Linked DNA regions of Homo sapiens: all the other regions are linked to region 3. Evidence: promoter capture Hi-C in 16 types of primary human blood cells and fetal thymus (Javierre and others, 2016). All regions are on one chromosome and are shown on one strand. The core of a region is centred on a gene start or on the middle of the fragment in contact, and the rest is flanking DNA. Distances in the headings are between cores, read along the strand shown.

Region 1 (4,734 bases), core at 1,720-4,219, 110 kb after region 3:
AATTTGCGTCTTCCAAGGAATATGTCCTTTTCAACTAACTTAACCAAATTTATGTGCGCAGAGCAGTTAGTCTTTTCTTGTCTGTGAATTCAGTAATGATAACTTCTTTTCATATCTGATGCTTGTCATGTGTGTCTTCTATTTTTGCTTTGACGTAAGTTTTCATTTGTATAAATACCTGGGGCATAGTTGCTGGATTATATGGTAAGACTGTTTAGATTTGTAAGAAGTTGCCAAACTGGCTTCCAAAGTGACTCTACCACTTTTCATTCCCACCAGCAATGAATAAGAGTTCCTATTGCTCCACATCCTCTCCAGCATTTGGTGGTCAGTTTTTTGGATTTTATCCATTCTAATAGGTGTGTAGTGGTGTCTTACTTTTGTCTGGATTTGCAATTCCCTAATGACATATGGTATTGAGCATGCTTTGTATGCTCATTTACCATCTGTATATTTTCATGTTTAGGTCTTTATCCCACAGAGTGGCTGCTACTTACAGCAGTTACCTTTTTAGTCCATAAAGTTTTAATGTGTCTTCTCTTCTGGGTACCAATAGTGCCCTTTCACAGATTTCACCTGACACTGTCAAATAGCATTGCTTCCTTCTTCCTTTGTGCCTACGTTGTAATCTGTGTTCTTTTTTCTTAGCTTCTTTGACTTTCAGTTGCATTTGCATATGTAACTGTTCTTCATTCTGCAGTGCTAAAAGCTTCTTGGTGGCAGGACTGTATTTCATTTATGTTTATATTCCTGGACATAGAGGTTGGTAACTGTATTGCAGATGTAGGAGTGATCAGTCGAACTTGTTTGCCTGACTGTCCTGCCTTTAGTACTGAAGGTCCCATATCTGAGCACTCTTGTATAGGTGGTTTCTAGGATAGCTTAAAACTGTAAAGAGGCCGGGCGCGGTGGCTCACGCCTGTAATCCTAGCACTTTGGGAGGCCGAGATGGGCAGATCACAAAGTCAGGAGATCGAGACCATCCTGGCTAACACAGTGAAACCCCGTCTCTACTAAAAATACAAAAAAATCAGCCGGACTTGGTGGTGGGTGCCTGTAGTCCCAGCTACTCGGGAGGCTGAGGCAGGAGAATGGCGTGAACCCAGGAGGTATACCTTGCAGTGAGCCAAGATCACACCACTGCACTCCATCCTGGGCAGCAGAGTGAGACTCTGTCTCAACAAAAAAAAAAAAAGAAAGAAAGATGACTGATTTAATGCACATTGATGGATGTTTTCAATACAATTTTTGTTCTCACAAAGTTAAACATAAATAATGGACACCCTAAACAGCTAGTTTTCCACAAACCTAGTAAAATAACTTGAAATTGGATGAGCATATTGTATTTCAGGGACCTTTGTCATTCATGGATGTGTTTGTGGATTTTACCTGGGAGGAGTGGCAGCTGCTAGACCCAGCACAGAAGTGCCTGTACAGGAGTGTGATGTTGGAGAACTATAGCAACCTGGTGTCCCTAGGTAAGTGCTGCCTCCCTGAGGAGGAGTGTGCTCGATCTCCAGGCTTCTTCTTGGTTGCTGAAAACTGGAGGGCTTCTATGAAATACTTAGTGATTTTGGACTTAGATTTTAAGGCCAGATTTTCTTAGTTCCCTATTGGCAGCAGAGTATGCCAGTTGAATGGTCTTTACTTTGCCAAATTGCAAAAAGGCAGCTTCATCATGCTACCTCCAAACCAAATCTTTCCCGTTCTTCAGAATCTCTGAATCTCAAGCTGTTTGTTCCAGGTTGTCTGTGATTTTTCTATTTATAGGGTACCAACACACCAAACCTGATATCATCTTCAAGTTGGAACAAGGAGAAGAGCTGTGTATGGTGCAGGCCCAAGTTCCAAATCAGACCTGTCCAAGTGAGTGATGGAGACAAATCTTTTCTTCTTTATTTAGAATTAGCATGAATTCCAATGTGATGTGCTCCTCTTGTTTGTACTTTGCCTCGTGTATTACCATGCACTTTTTTTTTTTTTTTTTTGAGACAGAGTTTCACTTTGTTGCCCAGGCTGGGGTGCAGTGGCGTGATCTCGGCTCGCTGCATCCTCTGCCTCCTGGGTTCAAGCAATTCTTCCGTGTCAGCCTCCTGAGTAGCTGGGGTTACAGTTGTGCGCCACCATGCCCGGCCAATTTTTGTATTTTTAGTAGAGATGGGGTTTTGCCGTGTTGGCCAGTCTAGTCTCGAACTCCTGACCTCAGGTGATCCGCCTGCCTTAGTCTCCTAAAGTGCTGGGATTACAGGCGTGAGCCAGCGTGCCCGGCCTTACCATCCACTCTTAATCTTCTCGTTGGCACCCTTATTTCCCTCCTTACTCTATCTTGGTGATAGACTCATTTCATTGTGCATTTTAGCAAGCCTTTCCTCTTTCCTTCACTTGATGTGACTCTCATGATCCTTCCCTTTCCTTTCTACATTTTGAAAATTACATTTAAATCCCTTACACATAAATTCAACAACCACAGTCCCATCTTCCTTCTTTTTGAAACCTGTTAGTAGATTCTACCCCTTTTGTGCTTCTCTATGCTAATGGATTTTTTTTTTTGAGACGGAGTCTCATTCTGTCGCCCAGGCTGGAGTGCAGGGGTGCAATCTCGGCTCACTGCAAGCTCTGCCTCCCGGGTCTCCTGCTTCAGCCTTCCAAGTAGCTGGGACTACAGGCACCTGCCACCACGCCCGGCTAATTTCTTGTATTTTTTGTAGATACAGGGTTTCACCACATTAGACAGGATGGTCTCGATCTCCTGACTTTGTGATCCGCCCACCTCGGCCTCCCAAAGTGCTAGGATTACAGGTGTCAGGCACCATGCCTGGCCTTGCTAATGGCTTTAACATTATCACTCTATACCTTCTGAGCACATTCCTTTGTCATGTGATAGTGTCCATGATCCTGCAGTGACACCTGTTGATCCTGCTCTTCTGCTGCATGACCGAGCACTTTTTCCCTTCATGTTCCACTGGGCTTCTCTTGCTCTTCTGAATCCAAGGGGTCTTTATTCTTCATTTCCCTCATATAGTGTAACTTTTAAAAGACTTACGCATTAGCTGAGCATGGTGGTGTGCACCTGTTGTCCCAGCTCCTTGGGAGGCTGAGGTGGGAGGATTGCTTGAGCCCATGAATTTGATGCTGCAGTGAACTATGGTTGTGCCACTAGACTCTGGCCTGGGTGATAGTGAGATCTCATCTCAAAAAAAGAAGACTTCTGTCTCAGTCTATTTGTGTTGCTGTAATAAAATACTATAGACTAGGTAATTTTATAAAGCACAGAAATTTATTTCTCACAGTTTTGAAGGCTGGAAAGTCCAAAGCCAAGGTGCTGGCAGGTTTGGTGTCTGGTGAGGGCCTGCTCTGTGCTTCCAAGATGACGCCTTGTTGCTGCATCCTCTGGAGGTGAGGAACACTGTGGGACAGAAAGAGGGGCAAAAAAGGCCTAAGATCATTCCCTCAAGCCCTTTTAGAAACGACTAATCCATTCATGAGGGCACAACTTAATCTTCTCTTAATACCACCACAATGGGGAGTAAGTTTCAACATGAGTTTTAGAGGGGACACATTCAAACCTTAATAACTTCCATTCGGAAGATTGAAGCTCTTTTCCTCTACTGGTAATTGATAGCCATACTGATCTTTTATCTGCCCTTTGGTCCTGGTTTTGATTGATTCACTGGCATCTCCCTCATACCACTCCCTGGCCTCGTTTTCAGAAACTGGAATCGTCTCTCCCACTGCTCCACCTACATACCACCTTCTTTTCATCTTTCTTCTCTTTGTTTATCCTGTTTTTTAAATTCTAAGTTTTTTTTCCTAACACTGGGGAAGTCAGCTTGAATTTCCTTTCTGTGCAGGGCTCCCTTACTAATTTTGGTACAGTGTTGTTAGCATTTTGTTCCTTTAAAAAGAGGTCTTTTAAAACCCTCATCGTCTCAATTCCCACTCAAAACGAGGCCAGTATTGTCATGTCTGGATTGTTGTATTTAGCTAAATTTATTCATTGTACTCTTTTTATATTAATTCATCTTCGATGTTACTGTCAGATATATTTCCCTGAATACCCCATTTATTCTATCACTAGCATGACAGCATAAATCAACAGTTAGTCCTTGCATTACTAGGATTGTTTCAGCTGCAGTTGTTGGTCAATCCCAGACCAACTAATTTAAGCAGAAGTGATTTATTATTACACATCACAAAAGGTCCTGAAGTGGGGCAGCTCCAGGATCAACTAAGTGATTGACTCACTCAATCGCCAAGGGCCCATCTAGGTATGTTGACATTTTCCTTAGGTTACCTTCTTTAATGGCCCTCAGATGGCTCTTGCAGTTCTAGTTGATGCCTGTGGATATACCAGTGGCCAATGAAATAAAAAGGGCTGTTTCTTCACACACGAGTCTGTCAGACAGGAAAACTCATCCCAGGAAGTCCCAAGCAGACTGATCATGTTCAACAGGCTAAATTTTTGTCACATGCCCCTGTCTGAGGGAGGCTCTGGAAAGGGAAATGGGGCTATCTCCGTTGGCTCAGATAAATTATGCTTTACCTTTTGGAAGCGGGACTGGGGATAGAAATGGGTCTTCACTTCCCTGACTGAAGCACATCACCTAGATGGGGGTGGAAAAAAATCAGGTTACTGCCAGCCAGGAACAGGGCAGAAGAACCACTGGGTAAGCAGCACTGTCTGCCTTCACCTTCCTTGGCCAGGCAGCACCTGTCACACCCTTCTTCCCAGCC
Region 2 (4,930 bases), core at 28-2,527, 94 kb after region 3:
TGTACAGTCTGTGGAACTGTGAGCCAATCAAACCTCTTTTCTTCATAAATTACCCAGTCTCGGGTACTACTTTATTTCTTTATTTATTTTGAAATGGAGTCTCGCTCTGTCACCCAGGCTGGAGTGCAGTGGCGCGATCTCGGCTCACTGCAACCTCTGCCTCCCAGGTTCAATCAGTTGTCCTGCCTCAGCCTCCTAAGTAGGTGGGACTACAGGCATGTGGCACCACGCCTGGTTAATATTTTGTGGCTTTAGTAGAGATGGGGTTTCACAATGTTAGTCAGGATGGTCTTGATCTCCTGACCTCGTGATTGCCCACCTTGGCCTCCCAAAGTGCTGGGATTACAGGCTTGAGCCACCGGCCCAGCCATGTATTTCTTTATAGCAATGTGAGAACGGACTAATACAATAACTTGTCAGAGCAGTCTTACTCCCATTGTCCATGCCACCCCAGTTTCCCAGGAGATTGTGAGCCCATTCACCTGCCTGGTGTGCTGCTACTACAACCATCATTTGAGAAAGGCACTACACCGAGGGTATTTGTAGCCAATGAAATAATACAGACTTTGCCACTGTAAATACCTAGAAGCAAAGTAAAATGGCTCTACCCGACCAACATCATAGTCACATCATTAAGAAAAAAGTGTCCCCCCAACAAAAGTAAATTCAAAAGTAAAAGAAGCAACTATTGCTTCATATGTGCAGAAATCAGTGTAAAGGTATAGGAGACATGAAAAAGCAAGATATTATGATACCCTGAAAGGAACGTAATAATTCTCCAGCAATACATCTTAACCAAAAAGAAAGTCTTGAAATGCCAGATATAGTATTCAAAATATTGATTTTAAAGATGGTCAATAAGATGCAAGAGAAATCTGAAAACTTATGCAAAGAAATCAGAAAATCAGTTTAGGATATAAATGTGAAATTTACCAAGAAGATAAGATACCTTTGAAAAAAAAACCTAACAAATTATTGATCTGAAAATTTCATTGAAGGAATTACAAAATACATTTGAAAGCTTCAACAATAGACTAGATTAAGCAGAAGAAAGAAGACAATTCTTCTGAAGTAATCCAGTCAGACAAAAATTTAAAAATAAATAAAAGAATGAACAAAACCCTCAAGACATTTAGGGCGACATAAAGTGACTGAACTTATGAATTACTGTCATCTGAGGGGAAAGAAAAATAAAAAAGGGTAGAAAATCTATTGAAATAAATAATCGACGAAAACTTACAAAGTTTAACCAGAGATTTGGACATTCAGATACTGGAGGTCCAGCAATCCTCAGAAAATTTATTGCAAAAAAGATTTCAACACAGCATACAATTTCAGACTGCTTAAAATCAAAGTAGAAGGAACTAATTTTAAAATCAGCAAGAGAAAAGCGCCTAGTCACTTACAAAGAAAACCCCATCAGACTAACAGTGAACTTCTCAGCAGAAACCTTACAGGACAGAGCAGAATGGGGTGGCATTTTCAAAGTGCTAAAAGAAAAAAACTTAGCCAAGAATTTTATATCCAGCAACATTAAGCTTCATAAATGAAGTAGAAATAAAGCCCCTCCCAGACAAGCAAACACTGAAGGAATTTGTCACCACTACACTGGTTCTATAAGAAATGCTCAAGAGTCCTAACTATGGGAATGAAAGGCTAATATTCACCATCATAAAAATACATGAATGTATAAAACTCACAGGTCTTATAAAATAATTAAACAGAGGAGGAAGACAAATAAATCAAATGGCAACACAACAGAATTCCACCAAAGCACAAAGAGACAGAGAAAGAGAAAGAAATAAAAAACTTATAACACAACTAGAAAACAACAATATGACAAGAACAAAACCTCACATATCAATATTAGCCTTGAATGTAAATGGAATAAATACTCCACCTAAAAGCTATAGATTTGCAGAATGAATTTTAAAAGATAATAAAACTATATGCTGCTTACAAGAAATTCACTTTACCTGTAAAGACACATATGGACTAAAAAAAAAAGGGGTGGATAAAGATATTCCACACAAATGGAGACCAAAAGTGAGCAGAAATAGATATACATCAGATAAAACAGACTTTAAATCATCAGTAAAGAAAAAGAAAAAGAAAATCAATATATGATAACAGGATCAAATCAGCAAGAGGATATAATAATTCTAAATGTATATGCACCCAACACCAGAGCACCCATATTCCTAAAACAAATATTTCTAGTTCTAAGGAAAGAGATAGACAGCAATACAATAGTAGTGGGGGACCTCAACACCCACTCAGAGCAGTAGACACATCATCAAGACAGAAAATCAACAAAGAAACATTGGACTTAAATTGGACTTCAAACCAAGCAAACCTAACAGATATTTATGGAATATTCTACTCAACAACTGCAGAATATACACTTTTCCCATCAGCACATGGAACATTCTCCAAGATAGACCATATGTTAGGCCACAAGGCAAGTCTCAACAAATTTTTAAAAATCAAAATCATATCAATTATCTTCTCAGACTGCAGGGGAATAAAGTAGAAATCAACAACAAGAGGAACTTTCGAAACCATACAAATATGTAGAAATTAACTATATGCTCCTGAATGATCACTGGGTCAGTGAAAAAATTAAGATTATAATTTAAAAGTTTTTTGAAACAAATGAAAATGGAAATACAACATATCAAAACCTATAGGATTCAGCAAAAGCAGTGCTAAGAGGGAAGTGGATAGCATTAAATGCCCATATCAAAAAAGCAGAAAGATTACAAATTAACAACCTAACATTACTTCTCAAGGAACTAGAAAAATAAGAACAAACCAAACCCAGAGTTACCAGAAGAAAATAAATAACAAAGGTCAAAGTAAAACTAAATGAAATAGAGACAAAAATGGATACAATATAATGGACCAATAAAACCAAAAATTGGTTCTTTGAAAGGAAAAAACCCTAAAACTGACAACTACTAGGTAGACTAACCAAGAAAAGGATAGAATATCCAAATACACAAAATCAGAAATGAAAAAGAAGACATTACAACTGATACCACAAAAATACAAAAGATCATTAGAGACCATTATGAACAATTATATACTAACAAACTATAAAACCTAGATTATAAGGATAAATTCCTGGAAAATACAACCTCCCAAGATTGAAACATGAACAAAGAAAAACCCTGAACAGACCAATAATAAGGAGCAAGATTGAATCAATAATAAAATATCTCCCCCACCAAAAAAGCCTAGGGTGAAATCGATTCACAGCCGAATTCTACCAAATGTACAAAGAACTAATACCAATTCCCCTAAAGCTGTTTCAAAAAATTGAGGAGGAGGGAATTATTCTTCCTACCTCATTCTACAAGGCCCTATGTTACCCTGATTCCTAAACCAAGGACACAACAAAAAAAAGAAAACTATAGACCAATATCCCTCAAGAACACAGATGCAAAAATCCTTAACTATATACTAGCAAGCTGAATTTAACAGCACATGAAAATGATAATACACATGATCAAGTGAGTGTTATACTAGGGATGCAGGGATGGTTCAACATACACAAATCAGCAAATGTGATGCACTGCATAAACCTAATTAAGGACAAAACCCACACGATCATCTCAATAGATGCAGAGAAAACATTTAATAAAATTCAGCATCCCTTCATGATAAAAATCCTCAAGAAACTAGGCATAGAAGGAACATACTAAAAAATAGTAAAGGCCACATATGACAAATTCACAGCCAACATCATACTGATGAGAGAAAAGTTGAAAACATTCCAAGAACTGGAACAAGACAAGAATGCCCACTTACACTACTGCTATTTAACATAGTACTGCAAGTTCTAGCCAGAGCAATCAGGCAAGAGAAATAAAAGGCATCTGAATTGGAAAACAGGAAGTCAAATTGTCCCTGTTTGCAAATGATATAATCTTATATCTAGAAAAACCTAAAGATGCCACTGAAAAAGTATTAGATTTGATAAATGAATTCAGGAAAGCTTCAGTATTCAAAATCAAAACAAAAAATCAGTAGCATTTCTGTACCCTAACAACATCTAGCTAAGAACAAAATCAAGAAGGCAATTCTACTTTTAATAGCTACAAAAAGCTCACCTCAGAATACATTTAACCAAAGAGGTGAAAACTCTCTACAAGGAAAGTTACAAAATACTGATGATAGAAATTGTAGATGATATAAACAAATGGAAAAACATCCCATGCTGTTCAGAGGAATTAATAATGTTACAATTATCATACTATCCAAAGCCATCTACAGATTCAATGCACTCCCTATCAAAATATCAACGTCATTCTCCACAGATTTAGAGAAAAAAAATCCTAGGCCGGGTGCGGTGGCTCACAGCTGTAATCCCAGCACTATGGGAGGCCAAGATGGGCATATCATGAGGTCAGGAGTTCAAGACCACCCTGGCCAACATGGTGAAAACCCATCTCTACTAAAAATACAAAAATTAGCCGGGCATGGTGGTGCACACGCGTAATCCCAGCTACTCTGGAGGCTGAGGCAGGAGAATTGCTTGAACCTGGGAGGCAGAGGTTGCAGTGAGCCGAGATCATGACCCTGCACTCCAGCCTGGGTGACAGAGTGAGACTCTGTGTAAAAAAAAAAAAAAAAAAAAAAAAAGAGAAAAGAAAAAGAAAAAGAAAAAAAATCCTAAAATTCATATGCAACCGAGAAAGAGCTCAAACAGCCAAAGCAATCCTGAACAAAAAGAACAAAGCTGGAGGCATAACTTCACCTGACTTCAAATTATACTATAAGGCTATAATAACCAAAACAGCATAGTACTGGTATAAAAACAGACACATAGGTCAATGGAACAGATAGAGATCCCAGAAATAAAGCCACATATCTACAGCCAACTGATCTTTGACAAAGTCAACAAGAACAAGCATGGGGAAAATAC
Region 3 (4,490 bases), core at 1,317-3,816:
TCAGGTAACATGAGACTGCTCAGAGACTGCTCGAGGCTGGGGGAATCCCAGAGGGAGAAGCCATGGCTGTGCCGGTACCAAGTAGAGACTGGGCCGCTCCATAAGGCCACGAGGGACTCGGAGTCACATCCTCTGAGACCACTGTTTCAAGGTGACCTGGGAGCGTTGCAAGGATTCTGGTTATTACAGTTATACGAAGCCAAAGCATCAGGGGTGCTTGAATCAGAGCAACTCCATCTTGTTTTTTATTTTATTTGTTGTTGTTGTTTTGCTCTTTTTTTTTTTTTGACACAGTCTCGCTCTTTCGCCCAGGCTGGAGTGCAATAGCGCGATCTCAGCTCACTACAACCTTCGCCTCCCAGGTTCAAGCAATTCTCCTGTCTCAGCCTCCGGAGTAGCTGGGATTATAGGCGTGCACCACCACGCCCAGCTAGTTTTTGTATTTTTAGTAGAGATGGGGTTTCACCATGTTTGTCAGGCTGGTCTCAAACTTCTGACCTTGTGATTCGCTGGCCACAGTCTCCCAAAGTGCTGGGATTACATGCGTGAGCCACCACGCCCGGCCTGTATTTTTTTTTTATTTTTATTTTTTGAGATGGAGCCTCACTCTGTCGCCCAGGCTGGAGTGCAGTAGCGCCAACTTGGCTCACTGCAAGCTCCACCTCCCAGGTTCAAGTGATTCTCCTGCCTCAGCTTCCCAAGTAGCTGGGAATACAGGCACCCACCACCATGCCCAGGTAATTTTTGTATTTTTAGTAGAGACGAGGTTACACTCTGGCCTGTTGGCCAGGCTGATTGCAAACTCCTGACCTCAGGTGATCTGCCCGCCTTAGCCTCCCAAAGTGCTGGGATTACAGGCATGAGCCACAGCACCCGGCAACTCCATCTTAAATAAGAACTGGGTAAAATAAGGCTGAGGCATACTGGGCTGCGTTCCAAGACCGTTAGGCATTCTAACTCACAGTATGAGACAGCAGGTCAGCATGAGACACAGGTCATAAAGACCTTGCTGATAAAAGTTTACAGTAAAGAAGCCGGCTAAAACCCACCAAAACCAAGATGGCAATGAGAGTGACTTCTGGCTGTCCTCATTGCTACGTCTTCCACTGTCAGAGGCGGTTGAACCAGGGCAACTCTATCTTGAGTAGGGGCTGGTTAAAATAAGGCTGAGACCTGCTGGGCAGCATTCCCTGGAGGTTAAGGCATTCGTAGTCACAGGATGAGACATGAGGCTGGCACAAGATACAGGTCATAAAGACCTTGCTGATAAAACAGGTTGCAGTAAAGAAGCCGACTAAAACCGAGATAGCGATGAGAACGACCTGATTGTCCTCACTGCCCACCAGTGGCTATGGCAACGTCAGGAAGTTACCCTATATGGTCTAAAAAGAGGATGCATGAATAATCCACCCCTTGTTTAGCATATCATCAAGAAATAACCACAAAAATGCGCAACCAGCAGCCCTCGGGGCTGCCCTGCCTATGGATTAGCCATTCTTTATTCCTTTACTTTCCTAATAAACTTGCTTTCACCTTATGGATTCGCCTCAAATTCTTTCTTGTGCAAGATCCAAGAACCCTCTCTTAGAGTCTGAGATCCGGACCCCTTTCCAGTAGCAAAAGGTCTTAGACTGAAGTACTGACTCCACAGTCGTTGTTAAGAATCCTAGTTGTTTAATAGAGGCGGTCTTGGGCTCTTGCTGGGCCGCGGTGTGTTCTGGGAAGTGTAGTCACCTGAGTCTCCAGTTCCTTGTCTCTGGGCCGTGTGTGCACGCCAGCGAAGCACTGTGGGAGTCGTAGTAGGGGAGGAAAACCCTATACCCTCTGGCGTGCGGCGCAGGAGTTTGGGGGAATGTAGTCGCCAGAGCTCTGCGTTGTCTTCCGGCTTTGGGCGTGGCCACGATGCACTCTGGGAGTCGTAGTAGGGGAAGAACGTCCTCCGCTCTTTTGCGCACGGTCGCTAGAGGTTCTGGGAAGTGTAGTTGCCTGAAGCTCGTGTTCTTTGTCTTTCGATGATGTGCGCTTGGCCTCAAAGCACCCTGGGAGTTGCAGTGGGGCGGGGAAAGCCATATGCTCTCTCGCGCGGGGTCGCGGTTGTTTCTGGGAAGTGTGGTGGCCTGAGTTCCACGTTCTTCGTTTCTCCGCTAGTTGTGCGCTTGGCCGCGAGACACTCTGGCAGTTATAGGAACACAAAGGTCTGTGTACTCTTCCGCGGGGGGCCGCGGTTATTTCTGGGAAATGTAGTTGCCTAGGACCCGGGTTCTTTGTTTCTCGGCTCTGGGCGTGGGAGGATAGCCCCTATGCTCTGGCGCACCGGGCCGCGATGGCTCTGGGAATTGTAGTTGTCGCAGGCCCTCGTTCTTTGTCTCCTGGCGTTCTGGGCACGGCAGCGAGGCGCTCTGGGAGTTCCAGTAGGAACGAAAAGCCCTTGCGCGCAGGGCCGCATTGGTTTCTGGGAATTGTAGTTTCTTGAGGCCGGCGGCCTGGTTGGGGTGACGTCGGCGAGGCTTCTGAAGACGCAATTCCTGCGACGCCCGCGGAGGGGCCCTGGGGGGCGGCGCCGAGCGTCTGGCCTGTGTTGGCTGTAGGCAACGAAAGGAGCCCTCCCGGTCTGCGCCGGATGGCCCCGGGCGGTGACTCGGTCCGGAGCCCTGGAACGCTACGCCCACCTGGCGGAAAGCACCACGGAAACGCATCCTTCTGTGGCCACTGTTAGGTGAGGGGGTTCTGGGGAGGCGCGCCGTGGCAGGAAGAGAAAGCCGGCGCCAGTGGTCCAAGCGCGATCTCTCAGGGCGCCCTGCTCTCTACGTGGGAGGCGCGGAGCGGGGGCCACGGGAATCCCCAGTGCGGGAATCTAGTGACTTGGGCGCGGCCTAGCTGGCCTGTTCGCTCAGGGCTCCTTTCTCTCTCTGCCAGGTCTGCCATTTTACACTTTTCTGATCTCCTCCTTCCCTTCTGTGAGCTATGTCTCAGGTAAGCTAATGATTGATAAATATATATATATATATATATATAAATTTTTATTTTTTTTTTAAGAGAGAGACAGGGTCTCCTCCTGTCGCCCAGGCAGTGGAGCGATCATAGCATCCTGTAACCTCAAACTCTTGGCCTCAAGTGAGCCAACCCACTTGGCCTGTTTCCGCTTTTCTTTGTGAAGTGCAGCCGTGTTTTTCAGGACTTGGGACGTGGCTTTCTTTCTCCTACAACCACCTGCCTGGCAGAACCCCAGGACCCTGTCCCTTGTTCCTCCTTTTCAGGTGCTTATACTTAAGTATACATGAAGAGAGTGACAGGAAGCTATCCAGATGTGGGCGGGGTTTCTGACCTGGCTGGCATGTTTTAGGGTGAGAGGGTAGGGTGCCAGCTGTTACATCGCCTCCTCTTTCCCACAGTGTTAGAATGAGGAGTGCTTTACGTTACTCCAGCGCCCCTTTATTCATTTATTCAATATGTTTTTACTGAACCTCTACTTTCAGTGGTTCCCACAGTGTGATCCTTGGACCAGCAGTATCAGCATCATCTGAGAACGTATTAGAAATGAATATTCTTGAGTCCTACCCCAGACCTTCTGAATCAGAAACTGAGAATTTGGCCCAGCAGTCTAACAGTCCTTCCAAGTGATTCTAATGTGCAACTCATTCTAAGTCTTGAGGATGCAGAAGTGACCAAAACAAAATCTCCGAATCCTCAGAGCTCATTTTTCAGACATGACATAAGGAACACATTTTTATTTTGATTTGGCCTAAGGGCTTGGCTGGTAATTGTGCTTCACAGCAGTGGGGATAACAGGGTCAACTATTCAAAATGAGTCCCTCATTTCAGTTCCACTTCTTTATCCTACTTTTTGTCATACTTCTCTCCAAATTCAGAGGTTCTCTGAGTTTTGCTGGGGAATCCAATTTCCACCTCTGCTGCAGATCTTGCTGTGTAGGAAACAGCTGCTTTATTAGTCAACAGTCTTTAATCACTTTTTTATTAAACTTCAAAACTGTAAATTATAACTGCCATCCATCTGGGACTGCTACTAGTTTGAGACATTTTAAATTCCCATTCATGCCTTATAGATCAATGTGGATCACTCAAGTGGTGCAAAACCAGGCTGCAAAGCAAGGGCTTATATATTATTCCCCCTAACTCTGAGGGAAAGTGCTTTAGGTTCTGTCCTGGGAGGTATTACATTCTCTTCTTGCGGAATCAAGATTCTTTATTGCTTATCCTCCTTGTTCTGTGACATTGCTAAAATTACCACTAAGTTTCACAGGTATTTCTTTAGGATTAGGGATAACTGTGACAAACTTGAGACTGTATGCCCCATTTGAAGGGTGGTGCTGTTATCTGCTGTAGCGAATTATTACCCTGAAGAAATTCTGGCTGAATTATATTAAAATAGGCTGGTATTAAGGAAAATATACATTGTTTATTAACATAAAGGAATACTGTAAAATCTTAAGAATTTTTACAACCAATGCCAAAAATCCATATTGTTCATG
Region 4 (4,473 bases), core at 1,244-3,743, 74 kb after region 3:
ACTTTGAAATATTATCATAAGCTCTTTTTTACTTTTTAGTATTTGCCTTGTAGGTGATTGTATCAAAATGGTATCTCAAAGCAAGTCTTTCTTTGGGACCATGGGAGGAAATATTGTTATATTTTCTTTTTATTACTTACCTTCTTTCTTTCTTTTCTATTTTGTTCATCTAGTAAGCTTTCCTGAATGTCTGTTGACAAGTATCCAAAAATAACAATTATTAACTGGACCCAGCAGTTTATATTTTTATTGAGAATTTATTGTCAAAAGAAATACTCAGACTTCATGGGCTTAAAGGCATGGAGTTTTACAGAATCTACAAGGCTGTTAAATTCATTATCAAATCAAAAAATATAATGAATGATGATTTTTAAAAATCAGATGATTAGTTGATTGATGGGTCCAACAGACTTCGACAATAACTTACTGGCATGGTTGTATTACATAATATGTGGAAGATTTTAGGATATTAATAAAACACCTCATTCTTATGACCAAACTCTCCACTCAGAATTGTCCTCCATAAGTGCTCAGCACCCCCCTTATCATAGATATTCTTCATAGAATCTTCCAGTTGGCATTTGTAGGTTGAAAAACTTCTCCATAAGATTTTCTGATGTTCTGGGTTGGGGAAAGGGAGGAAAGGGTGGTGTATTTCCTATTAAAAATCATCAGGATGGGGAAGAAACTAGGAACTAACTAAGTGGTAAGGGACAGGACTGGTCGGGGTGGGATTGTATAAGGAAGTCATTTAGGGACCAGGCCTGGCACAGGGATCATTTACCAGGTGTATTAGTTTCCTGGGGCTGCGGTAACAAAGAACCAGCAGTTAGGTGGCTCAAAACAACCAAAATGTATCATGTCACAGCTGGAGGCTGTTAAGTCTAAAATGAAGATGTCAGTGGGGCTCTGCTACGCTTCTAGGAGAGGGTCTTTCCTTATCTCTTCCAGGCTCTGCTGGCCCCAGGTGTTCCTTGGCTTGTGGATATATCATTCCAGTCTTGGTCTCCATGTTCACATGGTCTCTTCCCCTGTGTCTGTGTCTTTTTTATGGAGGACCACCCTCATACTGGATTAGGGGCCCATCCTATTTCTGGTACTACCTCATCATAACTAATTACATCTGGAAAGACTGTATTTCCAAATATGGTCATATTCTGAGATACTGAGGATTAAAACTTCAACATACCTTTTTGTCGGCGGGGGGGATACAGTTTAACCCATAATACCAGGTAAGAGTGGAATGTCACCCCACTTATGTAAGATGAAGTGGTATCATCAGTGTATTTTTTAGGTTTGGGATTATATGTTTTACCTGAAAGACATTGAGAAACAGATAAAGCTCTTATTCAAGAGAAATAATTTGCAGTAATATACACAGGTAGCAGATGGCAGAAATTCTAAGAGCGTATGGGTCAGGCTTCAGATTCTAAGTTCACATCTTGTGGTAGTAGTCCTATCAGTTGTTAAGTCCTTATGTTTCAGAGCGAAGAAATCAAAAAAATGAGAAGAATGATGATGATTATTGTAAATCTTATTGCTTTGACCATAAATGTGCCAGAGACTGTAATAGGCTCATGCTTTATATAATATAATAATCTTAAATAACAAATACTGTCATCCTTAGATTACAGATAAGCAAAATGAATTCTTCAAAGTTTAGCAACTCGTCTAAATTCACCACTAGTCGTAATATAAAACTTAGAACTTGCATCTTGGTAACTTTTGTGCAGTTACTCTTCCACCTTGTCATGTAGCTGCTCTGAGAGGTCTGTTGTGTCACTCATCTGGGTGTTATTCTATAGTGCTTCTGTGATTTGGATAGAAAGCATTGCCTGACGTATGGCTGCATTCATGGTTTAAGAATACTAAATTGGGCCGGACGCACTGGCTCACGCCTATAATCCCAGCACTTTGGGAGGCTAAGGCGGGTGGATCACCTGAAGTCAGGAGTTCAAGACCAGCCTGGCCAACATAGTGAAACCCTGTCTCTGCTAAAAATATTAAAAATTAACCAGGCATGGTGGCAGGTGCCTGTAATCCCAGCTACTTGGGAGGCTGAGGCAGGAGAATCATTTGAACCTGGGAGGCGGAGGTTGCATTGAGCCAAGATTGTGTCATTGCACTCCAGCCTGGACAACAAGAGCGAAACTGTCTCAAAAAAAAAAAAAAGAGAGAGAATACTAAATTGATAGTAATGTGAAGAATGTGTGTCAGGGGAAAGTCCTGACAACAAGTAGACAGGTGAGGAACTTAGACTGTTAATATCTGGATTAGAAAATGAGAGTGCAGTCCTTTTTATGGAATTTCCCTTATTTCTACCCTCACCATTGATACCCTGATCCCATGTGTCATGCTGTGTCCTGTGGCTTCTCCTTACTCCTTTTGCCCTTTGTGAGTACTGTATACCACAATGCATTTATTGTTTACCGCTCCATTCTTCCTTTTCTCATTCTCTATCAAAGTTATAAAGCCATATTTGAAAGCAACTGTGTACATCTTGCATACTTTGTCTCCACATACATCCTAGCATTCTCACCTTAATACTCTGTTTAGTTACACAAACATTTTTCATTTCTTTCAGATTCAGAGACTGCATTTGAAATCAAATCATCAGTTTCCAGCAGGAGCATTTTTAAAGATAAGCAATCCTGTGACATTAAAATGGAAGGAATGGCAAGGAATGATCTCTGGTATTTGTCATTAGAAGAAGTCTGGAAATGTAGAGACCAGTTAGACAAGTATCAGGAAAACCCAGAGAGACATTTGAGGCAAGTGGCATTCACCCAAAAGAAAGTACTTACTCAGGAGAGAGTCTCTGAAAGTGGTAAATATGGGGGAAACTGTCTTCTTCCTGCTCAGCTAGTACTGAGAGAGTATTTCCATAAACGTGACTCACATACTAAAAGTTTAAAACATGATTTAGTTCTTAATGGTCATCAGGACAGTTGTGCAAGTAACAGTAATGAATGTGGTCAAACTTTCTGTCAAAACATTCACCTTATTCAGTTTGCAAGAACTCACACAGGTGATAAATCCTACAAATGCCCTGATAATGACAACTCTCTTACTCATGGTTCATCTCTTGGTATATCAAAGGGCATACATAGAGAGAAACCCTATGAATGTAAGGAATGTGGAAAATTCTTCAGCTGGCGCTCTAATCTTACTAGGCATCAGCTTATTCATACTGGAGAAAAACCCTATGAGTGTAAAGAATGTGGAAAGTCTTTCAGCCGGAGTTCTCACCTCATTGGACATCAAAAGACCCATACTGGTGAGGAACCCTATGAATGTAAAGAATGTGGAAAATCCTTCAGCTGGTTCTCTCACCTTGTTACTCATCAGAGAACTCATACAGGAGACAAACTGTACACATGTAATCAGTGTGGGAAATCTTTTGTTCATAGCTCTAGGCTTATTAGACACCAGAGGACACATACTGGAGAGAAACCCTATGAATGTCCTGAATGTGGGAAATCTTTCAGACAGAGCACACATCTCATTCTGCATCAGAGAACCCATGTGAGAGTGAGGCCCTATGAATGCAATGAATGTGGAAAGTCTTACAGCCAGAGATCTCACCTTGTTGTGCATCATAGAATTCACACTGGACTAAAACCTTTTGAGTGTAAGGATTGTGGAAAATGTTTTAGTCGAAGCTCTCACCTTTATTCACATCAAAGAACCCACACTGGAGAGAAACCATATGAGTGTCATGATTGTGGAAAATCTTTCAGCCAGAGTTCTGCCCTTATTGTGCATCAGAGGATACACACTGGAGAGAAACCATATGAATGCTGTCAGTGTGGGAAAGCCTTCATCCGGAAGAATGACCTCATTAAGCACCAGAGAATTCATGTTGGAGAAGAGACCTATAAATGTAATCAATGTGGCATTATCTTCAGCCAGAACTCTCCATTTATAGTTCATCAAATAGCTCACACTGGAGAGCAGTTCTTAACATGCAATCAATGTGGGACAGCGCTTGTTAATACCTCTAACCTTATTGGATACCAGACAAATCATATTAGAGAAAATGCTTACTAATAAATATGGGAATTTTTCACAAAGAGCAATGACTTTATTTTGCATTGGAGAACTCCTGGAGATAAGCTGTACAAATTGAATCTATGTGGAAATGCTTTCAGTCTTGTTACTATCCTATTGCACATTAGAGAATTGGTCCTGGAAGGGAAAGAAACCACAGATTTTATTTCAGTACACAAATCCATCAGATTTTCTTCTTTTCATGAATTCCTACAGAAGTAATTGGCCTGAGAGCATTCTTGACCAAGTCTTAAATGCTAGAATCTGAGAAGGAATTATTAAATAGGTGAGTTGTTGAGCGAGAACCCCTTCATTTGAAAAGAAATGAGTATGCTACTATAGGGAGAGTTGTTGCTGAGAATTAAGAAATGATACAGTTAATGCAACAAAAGATGGAAAATAATATTTCAGTCAATATGTCAT
Region 5 (4,570 bases), core at 105-2,604, 79 kb before region 3:
CCAGGATGGTCTCGATCTCCTGACCTCGTGATCCGCCCACCTTGGCCTCCCAAAGTGCTAGGATTACAGGTGTGAGCCACTGTGCCCGGCCTAATTTTTGTATTTTTAGTAGGATAGGGTTTCACTATGTTGGCCAGGCTGGTCTTGAACTCCTGATTGCAGGTGATCCACCCACCTCTGCCTCCCAAAGTGCTGGGATTACAGGCGTGAACTACCATGCCTGGCCTGTTTTCATTCGTATCAAGCTTAAAGAAATAGTAAAAGGCTTTAAATAAAATAGACAATAAGCCTCCTGGTCTACCCGCTGCTCCTGGTCTACCTGCTATCTGCTGTGCACCTTCCCTCTTCCATCCTGTGTCCCCAGAAGCAGCCACTTTGGGCTCCGTTTCGTCTTCTGCTGTCGACCTCCAGCTTCTAATATGGTCACATCGAAGTGACTTGTTTCATGTTTCTTCTCCCTCAGATTTAAAGTAACCAGCTTGATAAGCACCTCAACGTAATAAGGGCACAGTAGTGGCTTCATTTTTCTCATCACAGCCTCAGGCTTCCTGTCAGCCCTTCCCTAGTGCTCGTCGTGAGGAGAGCTGATGATGCTCTGGTCACAGCCTTGTTTGTTATTGACTCTCAGTTACTTTCAGGTATGGGAAAGTTCAGTCCACACTCTCACTCCAAGCTCTTGTACCTCCCCTCATTCTAGCCTGCAGAGGGGAGATGGAGGAGGCTTGTCTGTATTCCCACTTCATTTACTTGTTGCCCTCCGACGGGGGCTCCTTCTGGGTTGGGGTGGGAAAATCAGTGGTTAGAGAAAAAGACACAGAGTCTCCTGTTGTGCGGTGGTCAGTACCCAGAGTTATGACAGGCATCAGTGGGGCTTGGTTGGAGCCTCTGACAGGGCTCTGCCCTGCAGTTCCATGGTGTATGTGATTCTTTCTCTCACTGCATGCAGACTCACCCAGAAGTCCACTCACTGCCTCTTCCCCTGGGGTCTCCCTCCCTGCAGGTAGTGCTGCTGAGGAGGAGCCTGCTAATGAGCTCAAGTGTCAAGTTCGGGAATCTTCTGGGTGTTCCTTGGGCCCAGGGAAACAGTGCCCTGCCTGAGGTGAGCCGCAGGGAGGCGGGGCCCTGTTTGAGGTGAGCTGCTGAACCCTCACTCCCCAGCTGCCTTTTGAGAGTCCCGCGGCAGTCTTTGCCTTCAGAATTTTTCAGAGGAAAGCAGTTATTCGATCCTTGTTTACTTAAATTCTTAAGTACATGTCAGTTCCTTCTGAAAATTACCCAGATTTAGCCTGGTCGGCTGTTGCAGATGTCCAGGTTGTGTGTGGGGCACTTGCACAGTCCCCTTTTCTTAGAGCCCCTCCTGTTTGAGAGGATGGATACCCGCTTCCCTTTCTTCTCACGTGTTCTTAGCAAGGTCACTTTTCTCCTTCAGTGACTCACTTCTGTGGACTGTTTTCTGGTTGGATCTCCCCCATCTTCCGTCATTCATGGACCAGTTATTCACTATCTTCTTTCTCCGTTTGTTATCCCCAGGCTTCTCCACCTCCTTAAAGGGAAAGTTCTGTAGTTTGCTTGGCCAGGCTGCTTGGTGTCCTCCTGGCCCCCCTTCTGTCTCTCAGCGTGCCATGCTGTCTCTATCAGGTTGTGTTCTGGCTCTGTCCCCACAGGATGCCCAGAATCCAGCCACCATTTATCATCCCCATCGCTGTCACTTTGGCCTACACTGCCTTCTTCCACTGGACTAACACAGTTGCCTTCTAACTGGTCTCCCCGGTATCTCCTCTTACACAACCCCCTCCCTCTTCCACAGCAGTCAGGATGATCTCAAAATACCAGTCAGAGCGAGAAGCCTTTCAGTGGCTTCTCACAGCGCTTGCATTTCTGCCTAGGTATAACCTCATCAGAGAGCTGCCCTGATCACCGTGTCTGAAACAGCACCTGTGCCTCCCTCTGTCTCATGACTCTGTCCCTTACCTGCTTGGATTTTTTGTTTGTTTTTTGTTTTTTTGTTTTGAGATGTAGTCTTCTGTGTCGCCCAGGCTGGAGTGCAGTGGTGCGATTTCTACTCACTGCAACCTCCACCTCATGGGTTCAAGCGATTCTCCTGTCTCAGCCTCCTGAGTAGCTGGGGTTGCAGGTGTACACCAGCATGCCTGGCTAATTTTTGTGTTTTTAATAGAGACAGAGTCTCACCATATTGGCCAGGCTGGTCTCGAACTCCTGACCTCAGGTGATCCACCCGCCTTGGCCTCCCAAAGTGCTGGGATTACAGGTGTGAATCACCATGCCCAGCCTGGATTTTGTTAAGAGTACCTAGCACCCCTGGCATGTTAGGTAGTCATGTGTTGGCTGAGTAACACCCACCCTGGAGACCCTAGGTGGGTGGGACCTGGGAGCCTAATTCATATACTGCTTTTAGCTGTTTACAGTTCACACCTCATTCTCATCATGCAGGATGACTGTTCCCAAAGCTTTTGGGGCTTCTGTGGGAGAGATGGTTTGCTGTGCATCAGCTTACCTCTGGGAGAGCTTTTGCTCACGGAAGTCAGTTACCAGATTTTTGGCTTACTGTTTATTAAAAATTTATCAAAATATCATATTGGCTTCTGTTTATGTAGTTCCCTTTTCTTTTTTTTTTTTTTTTGAGATGGAGTCTCGCTCTGTTGCCCAGCTGGAGTGCAGTGGCGCAATCTCGGCACACTGCAAGCTCTGCCTCCTGGGTTAACGCCATTCTCCTGCCTCAGCCTCCCGAGTAGCTGGGACTACAGGCACCCGCCACCACGCCTGGCTAATTTTTTGCATTTTTAGTAGAGACGGGGTTTCACCGTGTTAGCCAGGATGGTCTCGATCTCGTGACCTTGTGATCCGCCGCCTCGGCCTCCCAAAGTGCTGGGATTACAGGCATGAGCCACCGCCCCTGGCCTCCCTTTTCTTTTAGAGGTGTGTTTGTGTGTACTGTATTCCTGTATGTAATTTAAATGGGTCTCAGAGGAGGATACTGATAATCATGTTTAAATCTTCTCTCCATTCTCTCTGTTCCTACTTTCAAATCATGTTTAGTCTCCATCTCAACCTCCCTAATGGGCATAAATCTTACAACTTTGTAGGTGTTTTGATTTGTGAAATTATATATTATAGAAAAGCCATCTAGCATAGAAGAATAATGCCCGAGTATTGATGAGCCAGGAGGGATGGTGAACCACGTGGAGGTGCCTGGGCAAGAGGAGTCTGTTGGCTGTAGTGAGACCGTCATGCTACTTGGGATGTATAAATAAGAAATGCCTTTAGTTTAAGTCCCTTGAGTTAAACTGATGTAAAAATGCAATTATTTATGCTAATTCTGTGAGTATCAGCTTTCATTGATGTAGCATTTACCTGATATCTTTCTTCATTTCTTTATTTTCTAATTTGTATTTTTTCTTTGGTGTATCTCATAAGTTTCAAACTGTCTTAGTTTTGTTTTCAGTATGTTTCTTCTAACATGAATGTGTTCTTTCTCAGTCGGTTTTTTCTCTACTGTTTGGGAAGCTGTACTTGTCTTCCTCCCTGCTCCCTCCCTACATTTTTAGTGCTTGATTGTCTTTAAGTTGTTCACAGGCACACTGAACGTTTCCCTTTAAAACAAAGTCTAAACAGTTGCATTTTCTCTTTTCCCAAGTGAAAGATGTTTCTTTATACCTTCATTTTTTATGATTCTCATCTATTTGCATCACACACATGCTTAAATTGTAGCTGATTATAATTTTAGTTCAGATGTGTTTGAATCAATAGATTTATGTTCTGCTGATTTCAGTGCTCACCGTTGTATCCAGCTTCCCACCAATTCTTTCTGTGTCTTAATGTTGTCTCTATAGGGTGTAATTTTTTTTTTTTAGAGACAGAGTCTGGTTCTGTTGCCCAGTGTAAAGTGCAGTGGCATAGTCATGGCCAACTACAGCCTCAAACTCCTGTGCTCAAACCATCCTTCCACCTCAGCCTCCTGAGTAACTGGGACTACAGGCGTGCACCACTATGCCCACACATTTTTTTGTTATTTGTAGAGATGAGGTCTAACTATGTGACCCAGGATAGTCTGAAACTCTTGGCCTCAAGTGATCCTCCCGCCTCAGCCTCCCAAATGCTGGGATTATAGGCATGAGGTACCACATTTGATGGATATAAATTTTCCAGGTGCTAGTATATTTGAAAATGTCTTTTATTTTCCCTTATTTTTGCTTTTTAGTTTGGCTGGTATAAGATTTCAGAATCAGCATTATTTTTTCTCAGTACTTTATTTCTCTCCCACTTTCAAGAAGCATTGTTCTTTCCTTTTAGTTGGTTATCAGGTGTTCTCTTTATACTTTATTTTCAGACATTTCATTACCATCTGCTTAAATTTGGACCTTTTTTTTGTTTGTTAACTTATCTTGTATTTCAATTGGTAGGTTTTTCTCATGTGAACTCCTGTATTTGTCTTCACTCCAAGAGAATTTTCAGGCCGCATTTCTTTGAACATTGCCCTATTATTTCTCTTATTTATATAAACCTACATTGGTAATTCTTCTATAAACCAGGAAAATCATTCCAGGTTTAT

What was found. Contacts are between HindIII fragments. The CHiCAGO score rates a contact against its expected background, and 5 or more counts as called.
Region 1: a fragment that was not itself captured here is called in contact with the fragment with the promoter of ZNF140 in region 3 in 8 of 17 cell types (naive CD8 T cells, total B cells, total CD8 T cells and 5 more); the score reaches 10.5 in naive CD8 T cells.
Region 2: a fragment that was not itself captured here is called in contact with the fragment with the promoter of ZNF140 in region 3 in 13 of 17 cell types (naive CD8 T cells, erythroblasts, total B cells and 10 more); the score reaches 8.2 in naive CD8 T cells.
Region 4: a fragment that was not itself captured here is called in contact with the fragment with the promoter of ZNF140 in region 3 in 1 of 17 cell types (naive CD8 T cells); the score reaches 5.2 in naive CD8 T cells.
Region 5: a contact is called between a fragment that was not itself captured here and the fragment with the promoter of ZNF140 in region 3, in 1 of 17 cell types (non-activated CD4 T cells). The highest score is 5.1, in non-activated CD4 T cells.

What each region holds. Positions count from the first base shown.
Region 1 is chr12:133,190,138-133,194,871 of GRCh38, forward strand. It overlaps ZNF268 (zinc finger protein 268), which reads left to right. Exons shown (of 6, transcript NM_003415.3): 4 at 1,352-1,478; 5 at 1,771-1,866. Among named protein-coding and RNA genes, the nearest start is that of ZNF268, 11 kb to the left of the region's middle. The HindIII fragment of the contact is 4,524 bases long and covers 708-4,734 here.
Region 2 is chr12:133,173,566-133,178,495 of GRCh38, forward strand. No RefSeq gene overlaps it. Among named protein-coding and RNA genes, the nearest start is that of ZNF268, 5.5 kb to the right of the region's middle. The HindIII fragment of the contact is 517 bases long and covers 1,020-1,536 here.
Region 3 is chr12:133,078,357-133,082,846 of GRCh38, forward strand. It overlaps ZNF140 (zinc finger protein 140), which reads left to right and starts at 2,567. Exons shown (of 5, transcript NM_003440.4): 1 at 2,567-2,716; 2 at 2,917-2,973. The coding sequence starts at 2,965. RefSeq lists enhancers at 1,596-2,285, 2,356-2,555. The HindIII fragment of the contact is 18,343 bases long and covers 1-4,490 here.
Region 4 is chr12:133,152,919-133,157,391 of GRCh38, forward strand. ZNF10 (zinc finger protein 10) reads left to right here. Exons shown (of 5, transcript NM_015394.5): 5 at 2,585-4,473. The coding sequence ends at 4,050. Among named protein-coding and RNA genes, the nearest start is that of ZNF10, 25 kb to the left of the region's middle. RefSeq lists an enhancer at 2,291-3,490. The HindIII fragment of the contact is 4,637 bases long and covers 176-4,473 here.
Region 5 is chr12:133,000,633-133,005,202 of GRCh38, forward strand. All of the region lies in intron 1 of ZNF26 (zinc finger protein 26), which reads left to right. Among named protein-coding and RNA genes, the nearest start is that of ZNF26, 17 kb to the left of the region's middle. The HindIII fragment of the contact is 2,223 bases long and covers 244-2,466 here.